Linked DNA regions of Homo sapiens: all the other regions are linked to region 2. The links are contacts of gene promoters, found by promoter capture Hi-C in blood cells and fetal thymus (Javierre and others, 2016). All regions are on one chromosome and are shown on one strand. The core of a region is centred on a gene start or on the middle of the fragment in contact, and the rest is flanking DNA. Distances in the headings are between cores, read along the strand shown.

Evidence for each region. The method cuts DNA at HindIII sites, captures the fragments that hold promoters and counts their contacts. A CHiCAGO score of 5 or more calls a contact.
Region 1: a fragment that was not itself captured here is called in contact with the fragment with the promoter of MPHOSPH9 in region 2 in 1 of 17 cell types (M2 macrophages); the score reaches 5.0 in M2 macrophages.
Region 3: a contact is called between a fragment that was not itself captured here and the fragment with the promoter of MPHOSPH9 in region 2, in 2 of 17 cell types (megakaryocytes and erythroblasts). The highest score is 5.2, in megakaryocytes.

What each region holds. Positions count from the first base shown.
Region 1 is chr12:122,635,576-122,640,225 of GRCh38, forward strand. No RefSeq gene overlaps it. Among named protein-coding and RNA genes, the nearest start is that of MIR9902-1, 58 kb to the right of the region's middle. RefSeq lists a silencer at 2,365-2,434 and an enhancer at 2,502-3,402. The HindIII fragment of the contact is 2,345 bases long and covers 2,064-4,408 here.
Region 2 is chr12:123,229,948-123,234,578 of GRCh38, forward strand. MPHOSPH9 (M-phase phosphoprotein 9) reads right to left here and starts at 3,194. Exons shown (of 24, transcript NM_022782.4): 1 at 3,128-3,194; 2 at 314-575. The coding sequence starts at 417. It overlaps MTRFR (mitochondrial translation release factor in rescue), which reads left to right and starts at 3,489. Exons shown (of 3, transcript NM_152269.5): 1 at 3,489-3,584. RefSeq lists an enhancer at 2,967-3,206. The HindIII fragment of the contact is 1,460 bases long and covers 1,953-3,412 here.
Region 3 is chr12:122,530,343-122,534,844 of GRCh38, forward strand. KNTC1 (kinetochore associated 1) reads left to right here. Exons shown (of 64, transcript NM_014708.6): 3 at 4,322-4,442. Among named protein-coding and RNA genes, the nearest start is that of KNTC1, 5.3 kb to the left of the region's middle. The HindIII fragment of the contact is 4,966 bases long and covers 1-4,502 here.

The sequences.
Region 1 (4,650 bases), core at 1,986-4,485, 590 kb before region 2:
TGGAGGATGTGGTTGGAACACTCTAAAAGGGAGAAGAGCAAGAAAAGGCGCAAAGCTGGAACTGTGGGGCAGGGTGAGAGGAGGGAGAAAAGCACGTTGGCACCTTGACACCATAAACAGGTGGTATTTTTAGGCAGGGAAATAACAGAGTGAACTTGATGTTTTTAGGAAGATGAACTTGACAGCTGCGGGTAGGATGAATTGGCTAGAAGGATTGGAGGCACTCCCAGATGAAGAACTATTTAAATTGCCCAGGAAAAATTACATGCATTTATTTCTACTTTTTTTTGGTGCTTATCGCCCATCATTCCTTCTTTTTGAGATTTAAGTGTAAAGGGCTGTTTTGAGCAGCTCTGGATGTTGGTTACTCATTAATCTACTCATTAATCAGCAGAGATTTGTCCATGATGCTAGTTGTTCCATTTCCTTTAGGGGATAATAACCTTGTGTTATGAATTGCACCTTTATCAAATTAAGAGAAAATGAGAAAGCAGCTTTGTGATAACAACTTTGAGACCAACTAAAAGAAAATAGCTGACTGGGCGCAGTGCCTCACGCCTGTAATCCCAGCACTTTGGGAGGCCAAGGTGGGTGGATCGCTAAGTCAGGAGATTGAGTCCATCCTGGCTAACACGGTGAAACCCCGTCCCTACGAAAAAAAAAGAAATTAGCCGGGTGTGGTGGCAGGCGCCTATAGTCTCAGCTACTCGGGAGGCTGAGGCAGGAGAATGGCATGAACCCGAGAGGCAGAGCTTGCAGTGAGCCAAGATCACGCCACTGCACTCCATCCAGCCTGGGCGACAGACCAAGACTCCGTCTCAAAACAAACAAACAAACAAACAAAAAACTATTTGTAAAAATACTTTATGTGGTAGGAACAAAACTTATGTTCATGACGTACTTTTAAACAGAAGTTTTAAAATGGGCCAGATGTGGTGGCTCACGTCTGTAATTCCAGCGCTTTGGGAGGCTGAGGCAGGAGGACTGCTTGAGCCCAGGAATTGGAGACCAGCCTGGCAAACATGGCGAGACCCTGTCTCTACAAATTGTTTTGTTTTGTTTTTTTTGAGATGAAGTCTTGCTCTGTCGCTCAGCGTGAAGTGCAGTGGCGCGTTCTCGGCTCACCGCAACCTCTGCCTCCCGGGTTCAAGCAATTCTCCTGCCTCAGCTTTAAATTAGCTGGGCGTGGCGAAGGCACGGTGGCTCACGCCTGTAATCCCAGCACTTTGGGAGGCCAAGGCGAGCGGATCACAAGGTCAGGAGATTGAGACCATCCTGGCTAACACGCCATGGTGGTGGGCGCCTGTAGTCCCAGCTACTCGGGAGGCTGAGGAGAAGCAGAGGTTGCAGTGAGCCGAGATCGCGCCACTGCACTCCAGCCTGGGCGACAGAAGCGACAGAGCAAGACTCCGTCTCAAAAAAAAAAAAAAAAAAATTAGCCGAGCATGGTGTTGTGCACCTGTAGTCCCAGCTACTTGGGAGGCTGAGGTGGGAGGATCGCTTAAGCCCAGGAGGTCAAGGCTTTAATGAGCTGTGATCATGCCACCACACTCCATCCGGGGCAACAGAGACCCTGTGCCAAAGAAAAAAAGATATGTATGGAAAACACAAACACTTAGGGTGTGATCAGTTCCTCTGGCAGGTTGCATTTTGTTTCTTATTTCTCTGCATCACATGGTTTTATAAAATCATGAGCCTACTGCAGGTACAATTTTTTACTTTGTATTCTTTTCTCTGCCACTATAAACTTTTTAAAATATTATTTTTAGTAATAGTGTTTTTATTTTTAATGATTTTTTATTTTTAATGAAAAGCCATGCAAGCTCAGGTTCTAATTCTGCTTCTGTGTATAGGTTTATGAGTCGGACTGAATTTTGTAATCTCCCTGAGTCCCTTTTCTTATCCATAAAATGGGGATAATATACCCGCTTCAGTGGTTTCTGTGAGGATCAGATGAGATGATAGATGTAGGCAATCCTCAGCCCACAGCAAATCCTCAAAACTCTTAGGTCACCCCCTGGAGCTATTCTGCACACTTAGACTGTGCTAATATATTTTCACTAAGCTTTTTCCATATTTGGAATTATTCCCTTAAGATACATTCCCAGGAACAGATTTGCCAGATCCAAGGGAATGAAGGGAACATTTTAAAGCCTCCAGTTGCAAATTGCCACACTGCATGCATTTCAAAAGGTCTTCCTCACAAATCCCCATTCCCACCAGCAGCGGATGCACGTCCACTTTACTATGTCCTCAAACCATGTTGCTCATCTGATAGGTTAAAACGGCATCTCACTGTTCACATTGGTGTTTCTTTATTTGTGTGATTGAACCTTAAGAGAACCAGTTAGAAGGCTGCAGTCGCAGATGGAGTCTGGAATTGTCCTCTTGGGCGTAAGCGTGCAAGGCCCAGAAGAGGTCAGGTGGTGGCACTAGAACTTAACAGATGTGATGGACTGTCACGCTTCTTTGACTCTGGAGCTAAGCTAAGAAGGAGTGTTTCCAATGCCCACATTGGTTTCTTGTTCAGAATAAAGTTCTGATACATAAAGGGTTAGCTTTCAACATGTTGGAGAAGTCACTTTTTTTGGATCATAACTGTTATTTGAATTTGTTATATTTATTTATTTAGAGACGGAGTCTCACTCTGTCGCCCAGGATGGAGTACAGTGGCGCGATATCAGCTCACTGCAACCTCTCCCTCCTAGGTTCAAATGATTCTCCTGCCTCAGCCTCCCGAGTAGCTGGGATTACAGGAGCCGGCCACCATGCCCAGCTAATTTTGTAATTTTTTTTAGTAGAGACAAGGTTTCACCATGTTGGCCAGGCTGGTCTTGAACTCCTGACCTCAAGTAATCCACCTGCCTTGCCCTCCCAAAGTGCTGGGATTACAGGTGTGAGCCACCTGTGCCCAGCCTGAATTTGTTTTAAAGTAAGATTAAATATACAGTTAGCCAGGATTGGAGCCAGGATGGGGGCCGGGAGTGGTGGCTCATGTCTATAATCCCAGAGCTTCGGGAGGCTGAGGTGGGAGGGTTGCTTGAGCCTAGGAGGTTGAGGCTATAGTGAGCTATGATCGCACCACTGCACTCCAGCCTGGGCGGCAGAGCGAGACCCTGTCTCTAAAAAAGAAAAAAGAACAGAAAAAACAGCAAGGTTCCTTCTTGTCATTGTTCTATTTATTATATTTCTATTAGCTGTGATTGCCATCATTATTTTTATTATTCTACCCTTGTCTCCATACAGTTATTTTCCATACTGTTGCCTAAGTATATTCTTAAAACATAAGCCGGATCTTGTCCGTGGCTGGCCTCAAACTTTTCACTGGCTTCTCATTTCACTAAGCATAAAACCCAAGTTGCAGAAAACACTTCCCTTCTGTTCGAATTAGAAGCAGGGGTCATCTCCAGGAAAATGGATTATAAAAAGCCCCTCCTTTGGGCAGATCTAACATAAAAAGACACCCCCTTGGGTAAGGTCAAAGTTTTTTAAAAGCGCTGGATTTAAAAGCTGGATTTCGTTTATGGCTCGGTGCTGCCTGCCTGTCCATACCGTGGCTTATAAGGTCGGTAAGATCTAGGCCCAGTCTGCCTTTCCAGCCTCAACCCCTGCCACTCCTGCCATATCTCAGACCAGCCTTCTCTCTAGCCTTACCCGACCAGCCCAGCTAGTCACCATCCCACATCCCCAGTCCCTTGCTGTGACGTCACTCTATTCACTGTCTTCCTGCTGCCATCCAGGGTTATCTTTATTTACTTGTTTATTGACTAGCTCACTGGAATATTGGCCGGGCGCGGTGGCTCACACCTGTAATCCCAGCACTTTGGGAGGCCGAGGCGGGTGGATCACCTCAGGTCGGGAGTTCGAGACCAGCCTGGCCAACATGGTGAAACACTGTCTCTACTAAAAATACCAAAACTAGCCGGGTGTGCTGGCGCACGCCTATAATCCCAGCTACTAGGGAGGCTGAGGCAGGAGAATTGTTTGAACCCGGGGGTCACAGGTTGCAGTGAGCTGAGATCATGCCACTTCACTCCAGCCTGGGCGAAAGAGCAAAACTCTGTCTCAAAAAAATATATATATTTCTACTAAAATAATATATGTTGAAAGATATTGGGAGTATGTGCTCAAAAGTTTCCACTGAGGAGCATGCAAAAAAACCTTGGGGTCACTGGTCTCTTCTTCCTGGGACACCAGCATTGCATGAAAAAGAAACTATTACCCTAAGCACGTCTTTATACTTATGTGGCTACCCCCATCTGGATAGAAACAATCAACAAAATTATTCAGTCTTATTCTCTTACTCAAAAATAACTTAAAAACTACCCAAGGGAGGGATCCAATGTGTTTATTTAAGCACAGATAATGTATTCCAAATCTCTGGGCCCAAGGAGAAACAGCAGAAAGAAGCTTGAATATCTTCTGTCTCACTGAGCCAGGTTTTCCATCACCACAAAGTGGAATGAGAACACCCCACTAATTCATTCTCTACTCCGAATAGAGAAAAAGAATTTGGCTGCTTCATTCCAAGCAAGAGATGGTGGAAGGAGGCCCTTGAGTCTTGAGGATTAAATAGAGCGTCTTCATGTATTTAGCGGTTGCTAACTTTCCCCATTTTTCTTATGTATAATGAGGCACTGCCATTTGTTC
Region 2 (4,631 bases), core at 1,944-4,443:
AGTAGCTGGGACTACAGGCGCGTGCCACCACACCTGGCTAATTTTTGTATTTTTAGTAGAGACGAGGCTTCACCATGTTAGCCAGGCTGGTCTCCAACTCCTGGCCTCAGGTGATCCACCCGCCTCAGCCTACCAAGGTGCTGGGATTACAGGCATGAGCCACCGCGCCCAGCCTCCCTGAACATTCTTGATGATAGGTTAAAAAATAATAATAATTCAAATCAGTAACTATGACACTATTTGGATAAGTTGATAAACGTATGCAAATAAGGTTATTCTGATTTGGTACATTTTTTTTAAATCCCATTCTTACCTATCAGTATTTAAGTTCAGTCCAAGAGAATGAAGAGAATTTTCATCAGATCCTACAGAAGATGAAGTTTTGTGTAAGGTTTTCACCAAGTCAAACTCTTCCATAGTGTACAGAAATTGTTATATTCTCTTATTGGAAAATAAAGGTTCTTGGGCTGTTTGAGAAAAATGAATCCGTGTCATCTTCAGAGGCTTCATCATCTACTGGCATTTTCAGTGGCTAACATTCAGAACTGTGAAATATCCTAAACTTCCAAGAGAGTCTGAAAATGAATGGGGGAAAAAAATACTACTATAAAAAGCCACCAAAGCTAGCAACTGTTTTTACATAACTTTGGAAACCTTAACTGCTTTCATACAGATCTCCATTAAGGATAGCAACAGTATTCATAATAATCAAAATGTAGAAACCACCCAAATGTCCATCAATGGATAAATGGATAAACGAATGAAGCATATTCATAGAACAGGATAGGATTCAGCCATAAAAAGACACATGCTACAACATACATGAACACTGAAGATACTATGCTAAGTAAAAAAAGCCAGTCACAAAAGACCACAGACTATATGATTTCATTGATATGAAATATCTTGAATGGGCAAATTCATAGACAAATGGCTGCCAGGAGCTGGGGAAGGAGAGAATGTGAGTGAGTGCAGCTGGTATGGAGTTTCTTTTTGGGGTGATAAAAAATTCTGGAATTAGATAGTGGTGATGGCTGCACAACCTTGTGAACTAAAAACCACTGAATTGTACACTTGTAAAAGACTGAATTTTATGGTATGTGAATTATGTATCTCAATTAAAAATCTACATTAAGGATTATTTGCAAAAGTAGCATCACCTTTTTCAGGTAATATTTCAGATTTTTATATGTTTAATAATCAAGGTTCTTTTTTTTAGAGACAGCATCTTGCTATGTTGCCCAGGCTGGTCTACAACTCCTGGCCTCAAGTGCTCAGCCTCCCGAGCAGCTGGGATTATAGCGCAAACCATTTTGCCAGGCTTTACAATGAAAGTTCTAGATATAATTCTATTATGTAACAATTGGAATACTTGCATGCCTTGTTCATTTGTTTAATAAATTCTACCAAGTATATATGTTTGTTGACTTATACAGAGACAAGAAGAACTGAACTACTTAATATTTAATTTGTATTAAAAAGAGCCAATTAAACTGTTAACAACCATAGCTTCCCCATTGTCTGGAAGTACATTTTGAACTATATATATGGTCTTTTGTCTCTGTGCAGCTATTCTTAGAAAATAAACCACTGGGCACACTGGAGCCTGCCTGCAGCTACTGGGAGCATGTCCCAGCTACTCTGGAGGCTGAGGTGGGAGGATCACTTCAGCCCAGGAGTTCAAGACTGCAGTGAGCTATGATCCTGCCACTGCACTCCAGCTTGGGCAACAGACCAAGACCCCATCTCTTAAAAAATAAAAATAAAAATAAAAAAATTATTTGCCAGGCCAACTAAAATTTCAGTGAAGCTGGATATATACCATGGCAAATTGGCTGTAACAGGTCAAACAAGATGCCTCCTTCCTGGGGAATTCATGCACTTATAAAAGAGCAAGGGAGCAAGAGGAAAAAGGAGAAAGAAAGAAAACTTCAGCTGCTTACAAACTGAAAAGCTTAGAGAGTGCAACAGGAATATTATCTAGTATTCCGCTTCTGCTAGATTCCCACTTTCTAGGGCCTGCTTTTATAAAGCATTACACAAAAACAGGGACCATTTCCTTCAGGGACAGGAGTGAATGCAAAGGGTAACCGGACCTAACTAAATGGACTTTTCCCCAGTGGCTCAGCCCATCACCCACGACAAATGGGGCATTGAAACAGTCAAGGACTGCCCCTTCCAACTGGCAACAGAAATACCTGGATTCCAATCACCATGCTATTACACCAGGAAAACACAAGCTCTCCAGGGAGATGAACCTGCAACCCCATCTATTATTTCCCCTGCTAAGGTAATCCGGATCCGGATGCAGATCCAGATGGAAAACCACTAGAAATTCAAAGATGCTTCTCCATTTGGGGTGGAGGTGCTGGGGGGAGGGCAGGGAAGTAAGAGGGAAAAATCCTTAAACACCCACAAATACAATGCAAAAAAAAATTTTTTTAACTTGATACAGAATGAATATAAGAGCAGAGCTTTTATATTTCCCAGCAACAAGATATGACGCTTTTGGTGTCCCTACCCCCTAGCAAAAAAAGGGAGCTGGGGAAAAGGAACGATTGATGGTTATGAAACATGAAAGTTAACTGGGCGCTCCGCCTTGACGGGAGGCTTGGGGGAGAGGAAGAGATTTCAGATGGGGATGAGGCCAGATCCCGACATTCTGAGCTCACAGTCAGCCCGCAATGGCTGGTGGCGGCTATCGGGTCAAAGTGGGAAGGAGAGGGAGAATCTATGCAGTCGCCTAAGCTACGGAAAGCAGGGAGGACGGAGAAAAGCCACCGCTCCTGCAACTACAACCGCGATTCCAAAAGGAAACCGGGGCACCTTGGCAAAAAATGGGGGGAAAAATTAAAAAAACCCCACAAACCCCCCGCCCCTCAGGAAGAGCGATCTGCGATTGGGCCGCGCGAGTGTCACTCAAGGGCGCCGAGTCTAGAAAAGGCGCACCGCGGCCGGGCAGAGCTCCCACACGCCGAAGGGCTCCGAGGGGGTCAGGCCAATCGGCAGCCGTCACCCCACACCCCAGCCCATCACCACACTCAAGGGGCCGCTAAGACAGTGTCTCCTAAGTCTCGTCTCCTGTCCCCAGCGGCCTACAGCTCCCTGCAGGCTGGTGGCCGCTTACCTGGCCGCCGCTCCCGCTGCCGATGTCAGGGTCATGCAAGCGGCCTCTCGCGACCGTTACCCGAGGGAGCGCGCGCGCGCCCGGCGTCTCTCCAGTGATTGGCTGCCCGGAAGGAGGCGGAGACAGCCTCGCATGGCGCGCGCGTCCACCTCGCCGTTCCCCCTCGCGCAGCTCCAACCAAAGAGAGACATCCAACCCCGGGGGAGTGACAAGGGGGCGGGATTGCTGTGAAACTCTCTTCTCTGATTGGCTCTCTGGGAGCCAGCCGCTGCCACGAGGGAAAGAAGCTTCAGTTTCTCGCATGCGCAGTGAGTAAACATGAGCCTCTGGTAGATAAGAGAAACCGCGATCGGAGTACGGCGCGTGCGCAGATCAGGGATCGCGATTGCGAATCCTCCGCTGAGGTGATTTGGATATCCCTAGAACGTTGAGGGCACGAGTCGGGTCCTGAGACCAGGTAAGCATCTGCGGAGAAGCCAGGTAACCCTACGGCTGCCGACGACTGTCAAAGGCTCCGGAGAGAGGACTGCGAGCCGGGACGCCTGGGTTTTTCCCGACTTGCGACCCCGAGTGGCGCAGCCAGTTTACCTGAGGCCGCGCTGGCGGTGGGGTGGGGCCGGCCGTGACACCCGAGCTCAGTTTTCTCGGGACCTGGTTTACGCTAGGTGCTGTGGGTCGGCCCTGGGGCTGTTCAGGCACTCAGGGCAGGGGAGAGGAGAGACTACCGTCCTGGAGATAACGGTTCCACGGAGGCCCAAGGCGAAACGGAAGGATCCTCATGTACAAAACTGAGCGGAATGGAGCTGTGAGCACGCATCAGGTGCTGTTTCAGGCCTGGCACGTAGTAGAGGTCAGCACTGCCCTTGCTAGGCTTTTGCGGAGATACTCGTTTTTTTTTTAATAGACGTGGGGTGGGGGGGTCTCACTGTGTTGCCCAAGCTGATCTCGAACTCCTGGCCTCAAGCGATCCTCCTTCCTCGGCCTCCCAAAGTGCTGGGATCACAGGCGCAAGCCACCCAGCCCTACTTTTGAAGGACCAAAGGGAACTCGCTCTCCTCCCCGTGGGACCCCAGCCCATTTCATGCGCACTGTGCAGGCCACATTCTTCAGCATAGTTAACCTTTAAGGTCTTTCCAGCTACTCGATTTACCTCCAGGAGTTCTGGCTCACAGTAAAGGGACTTCCCTGGCACTATCACTTAGGCCTCCACAACCCAGGAAATGGATCTGCCCTTGGAATAACAGATCTGCCAGGAGGCGTTACATCTCATTGGAGCTTCCTAAGTATACCTACCAATTTTTTTTTACTTTTTTTATTTTTGTGGGGGAGGGGGGTAGGGGGGACAAGGTCTCTCTCTGTCACCCAGGCTGGAGGGCAGTGGCGCGATCTCGGCTCACTTTAACCTCTGCCTCCCGGGTTCAAGTGATTCTTCTGCTTCAGCCTCCCGAGTAGCCGGGAATACCGGTGCCCGCCACCACATCCGGCTAATTTTTTGTATTTTTAG
Region 3 (4,502 bases), core at 841-3,340, 700 kb before region 2:
AATACCCTCTGCATCATGTCAGGATCAGTATTTTCACAACTGAAGGATTCTTAGTTCCTCTTGATATTTCATGCATACAAAAATATGTGTAAGTTGATACAAAGGATATCTTTTTTTTTTTTTTTTGAGACAGATTCTTACTCTGTCACCCAGGCTGGAGTGCAGTGGTGTGATCACGGCTCACTGCAATCTCTGACTCCCAGATTCAAGTGATTCTCGTGCCTCAGCCTCCCAAGTAGCTGAGATTACAGTTGTGTGCCACCATGCTCAGCTAATTTTTTGTATTTTTGTAAAGATGGGGTTTCTCCATGTTGGCCAGGCTGGTCTTGAACTCCTGGCCTCAAGAAATCCACCCACCTCAGCCTCCCAAAGTGCTGGGATTACAGGTGTGAGCCATCACTCCCGGCATACAAAGAATATCTACGACTGACTTAGGAAATAAAATGTTACAAATAGAGTTGAAGGCTCTGAGGGTCCATCCCTGAATCTGTGTTCCTCCTGTTTCCTACCAGAGTCAAGCACCCTGCTGAGTATGAGGTTTATCCGTGCATTTCTTTCTACATTTTAACTTTCTTCTGTCAGTAATTGCACCATTCTTGCTTCATGCCTGAAACCTTATTCTTTGCATTCTATAGAAGGTACTATTAGCTGGGTGTGGTGGCATGCACATGTAGTCCCAGCTACTTGGGAGGCTGGTATTTAATTCTTTTTTTTTTTTAATAAAAGAAATTTTTTTTCACTCAAATGGAATCTGACAGATAAGGCAGGGCATCCACTGTGGACGTTATTCCTAAAGGGAATTAAATGTATGCTTTTGACTTTTTTTTTTAAACTGGCTGATGGGATTTTAAAAAGAAATCATTCTTTATGCAGCTTTAAGCTGGTGTCTGTGGAACTGTGCTGCTTTTTCTTGCTGTGGTGCTATCTCGGCTCGGCTCACTGCAACCTCTGCCTCCTGGGTTCAAAAAATTCTCCTGTCTCAATTTCCCAAGTAGCTGGGATTACAGGTGTGTGCCACCATGCTACTAAAAATTTTCGTATTTTTAGTAGAGATGGGGTTGCCCAGGCTGGTCTTGAACTCCTGGCCTCAAGTGATCCGCCTGCCTTGGCCTCCCAAAGTGCTGGGATTAAAGGCATGAGTCACTGTGCCTGATTTGTACCGCTTTAAATGTACCATGAATCATGTTAAAGGCAGTATAATCCAACAATAAGATAATTAGTATAAGATAAACATTAATTATGAGTAGTACAAATCTCATTGTATTTTTTGTCATTATTTATTAGAGGCAAAAATTTCAAGTGCAGCATTTCTTTTTTTTAAATTTTTTGAATCCTTCGAGACATCTGAAAGCACAGTTTCTATAATGAGGAAATGACGTCTATTTTTTAGTATTTTTGTTCGTTTGTTTGAGATGGAGTCTTGCTCTGTCGCCCAGGCTGGAGTACAGTGGCATGATCTCAGCTCACTGCAAGCTCTGCCTCCCAGGTTCACGCCATTCTCCTGCCTCAGCCTCTCAAGTAGCTGGGACTACAGGCGCCCGCCACTATGCCCAGCTAATTTTTTGTATTTTTAGTAGAGACGGGGTTTCACCATGTTAGCCAGGATGGTCTCGATCTCCTGACCTCGTGATCCGCCCGGCTCGGCCTCCCAAAGTGCTGGGATTACAGGCTTGAGCCACCGCACCCGGCCATTTGTTTTTTTTTTTTTTAAGAGAGACTCTCACTCTGTAGCCCAGGCTGGAGTACAGTGATGTGATATTGACTCATTACAACCTCCCACTCCTGGATTCAAGTGATTCTCCTGCCTCAGCCTCTGGAGTAGCTGGGATTATAGGCGCCTGCCACCACGCCTGGCTAATTTTTCTTTTTTTTTTTTTTTTTTTTTGAGACGAACTCTTGCTCTGTCACCAGGCTGGAGTGCAGTGGCGTGATCTTGGCTCATTGCAACCTCCGCCTCCTGGGTTCAAGCGATTCTTCTGCCTCACCCTCCCGAGTAACTGGGAATACAGACACGAGCCACCACACCCAGCTAATTTTTGTGTTTTTAGTAGAGATGAGGCTTCACCATGTTGAGCAGGATGGTCTCGATCTCTTGACCTTGTGATCCACCCACCTCGGCCTCCCAAAGTTCTGGGATTACAGGTGTGAATCACTGTGCCCGGGCTTTATTTTTTAATATTATCAGGAGCCTTAAAACGTGGAAGTGGCTCAGGCCTTTCTTGACCTCAAGGTTGCTGTTGAAAAATAATAGTGCATGTGTATAGAATCTTGGATTCTGGTAGGAACTAAAATTCTATCTATTATTAGCACGTGGCATACACTTACCAACATGTTTTGAACATCTGCTATGTTCTGAGCCCAATATTAGGAACTTGGACATAAGATGGCATCTTATTCATTCCTTTTAGGATCTTACCTTAAAGTTAGGCACACAGGACACAAACAATAAAAGATGCTTAGCTGTGCAAGTCAGTATATGCTAAATGCCAAATGAACAGTACAGACAGTAAATGAGTAGGAATTCAGTGGCTGGAGAGCTCATTGTCGGTTGGGCAGTTTAAGGAGCATTTCCTTAAGAAACTATGTGTGAGCCCGGTGTGGTGGCATGTCCTGTAGTCCCAGCTACTCAGGCTGAGGCAGGAGAATGGCGTGAGCCCAGGAGTTTGAGGCCAGCCTGGGCAACATAGGGAGACAACATCTCTAAAAAAAATAAAAATTAAAATAAACTACACTTGCTTTGGGCCTTAAGAAGGAGAACAGTCTAGAGAGAAGAGTCTAGAGAGAACAGTGTGGACAGATCCCTAGAAGATATAGTGCCGTTCCTTTTCTTTTTTTTTTTTTTGAGGCAGAGTCTTGCTCTGTTGCCCAGGCTGGAGTGCAGTGGTGTGATCTTGGCTCACTGCAACCTCTGCCTCTCGGGTTCAAGTGATTCTCGTGCCTCAGCCTCCCCAGTAGCTGGGATTACATGCGTCCGCCACCACGCCCGGCTAATTTTAGTGCCATTCCTTGTTGGCAGTGCCTTCATGTAACCTTTTACTAGTTGAAGAAGCAAGTAAAAAGATAAGAAGGAGGCTGGGCGCAGTGCCTCACATTTGTATTCCCGGCACTTTGGGTGGTTGGGATGGAAGGATCGTTTGAGTCCAGGAGTTCTAGACCAGCCTGGCCAACACAGTGAAAACCCCGTCTCTATAAAAGAAAAAGAAAATTAGCCAGGTGTGATGGTGTGCATGTGTAGTCCCAGCTACTTGGGTTGGGGAGGCACGAAGATCCCTTGAGCCCAGGTGTTTAAGGCTGCAGTGAGTTATGATGGCATCACTGCATTCCAACCTGAGCGACAGAGGGAGACCCTGTCTCAAAATAAAGAAAAAAATAAGGTAGAAGAGGGATCAGAATGTTGGGGAATTTTCAAGGATTACACCTGGAGAAGATGACTTTTGAAATAGTCATAAAATGAGGTGATTAGCTGTATTTTGTCAGGGAAGAATAGGACTGGTTAACATTTATTGAGCATATACTATGTGCAGGGCTCTCTCATAAGCCCTTTACGTGAATTCGTTTAATCTTTATTCAGGTGAACCTTGTAGGTATTATTATTGTTACTCTTTTACATGGAGTTAGTTGATGCATTTGCCTAAGATCACTTAGCTAGTAAGGGACTGAGCTTCCTCAACCACTAATCTGTCCCAGTGCTTCAAGACAGCTATGTGTGGGAGGCTCTTGGCAACAGAAACTGAATACTGGAGACTCTGATTTGGCTTGTCTACTGTTTTTAAAAATGTTGGCTTAGCTGCCAATATTTAAAAATCAGAACATTTCACATAAAGATCCAGCTTCTGTTGATGAATTGGGAGGTATGGCCATGCCAGTGCTGCATCCCCACCAGGCTTCCCACTGGCTGGTGTGAAGTAGACTCTATTCTTTCATGTCTGTGGGGGCATGGACCCTCCAGTTCACAGTTCACCACCGTTCCCCTGCCTAGCGTATCCACGACACCAAGACTTTATTCCAATCTTGATTAATTCATTATGTTAATACCTGGCTCCTGCAGCATAAAGTCAATCCTGAGGAAACAAGGACTTGAACATGAGAATCCTTTGCCCTTCCTGCTCATCCTGAACTGTTTTTCTACTTAGGATCCTGGATGGATTCAAGATATACCATACAAAGAAAAACTCGATGATTAATTAGATAGAGGGGCTAAAGAAAAAAAGCCTGTCAAGTTTTAAAGTGGGATATTTGGGAATTTGATGATACTATTGATAAGTATTATTAAACACATATAAAAATGTTTGAATTTTCATCATGCTTTTCTCTCCCACAGGCCTCATTAAATCCAAAGATACAGGCATGCAGCTTAAGTGATGGGTTTATTATTGTAGCCGACCAATCAGTGATATTGCTTGACAGTATTTGTAGATCACTTCAATTGCATCTTGTCTTTGGTAAGTATAATGTAGTGAATGAAGTAAGATAAATTGGAAGTCAAATACATCTGCTGCCAA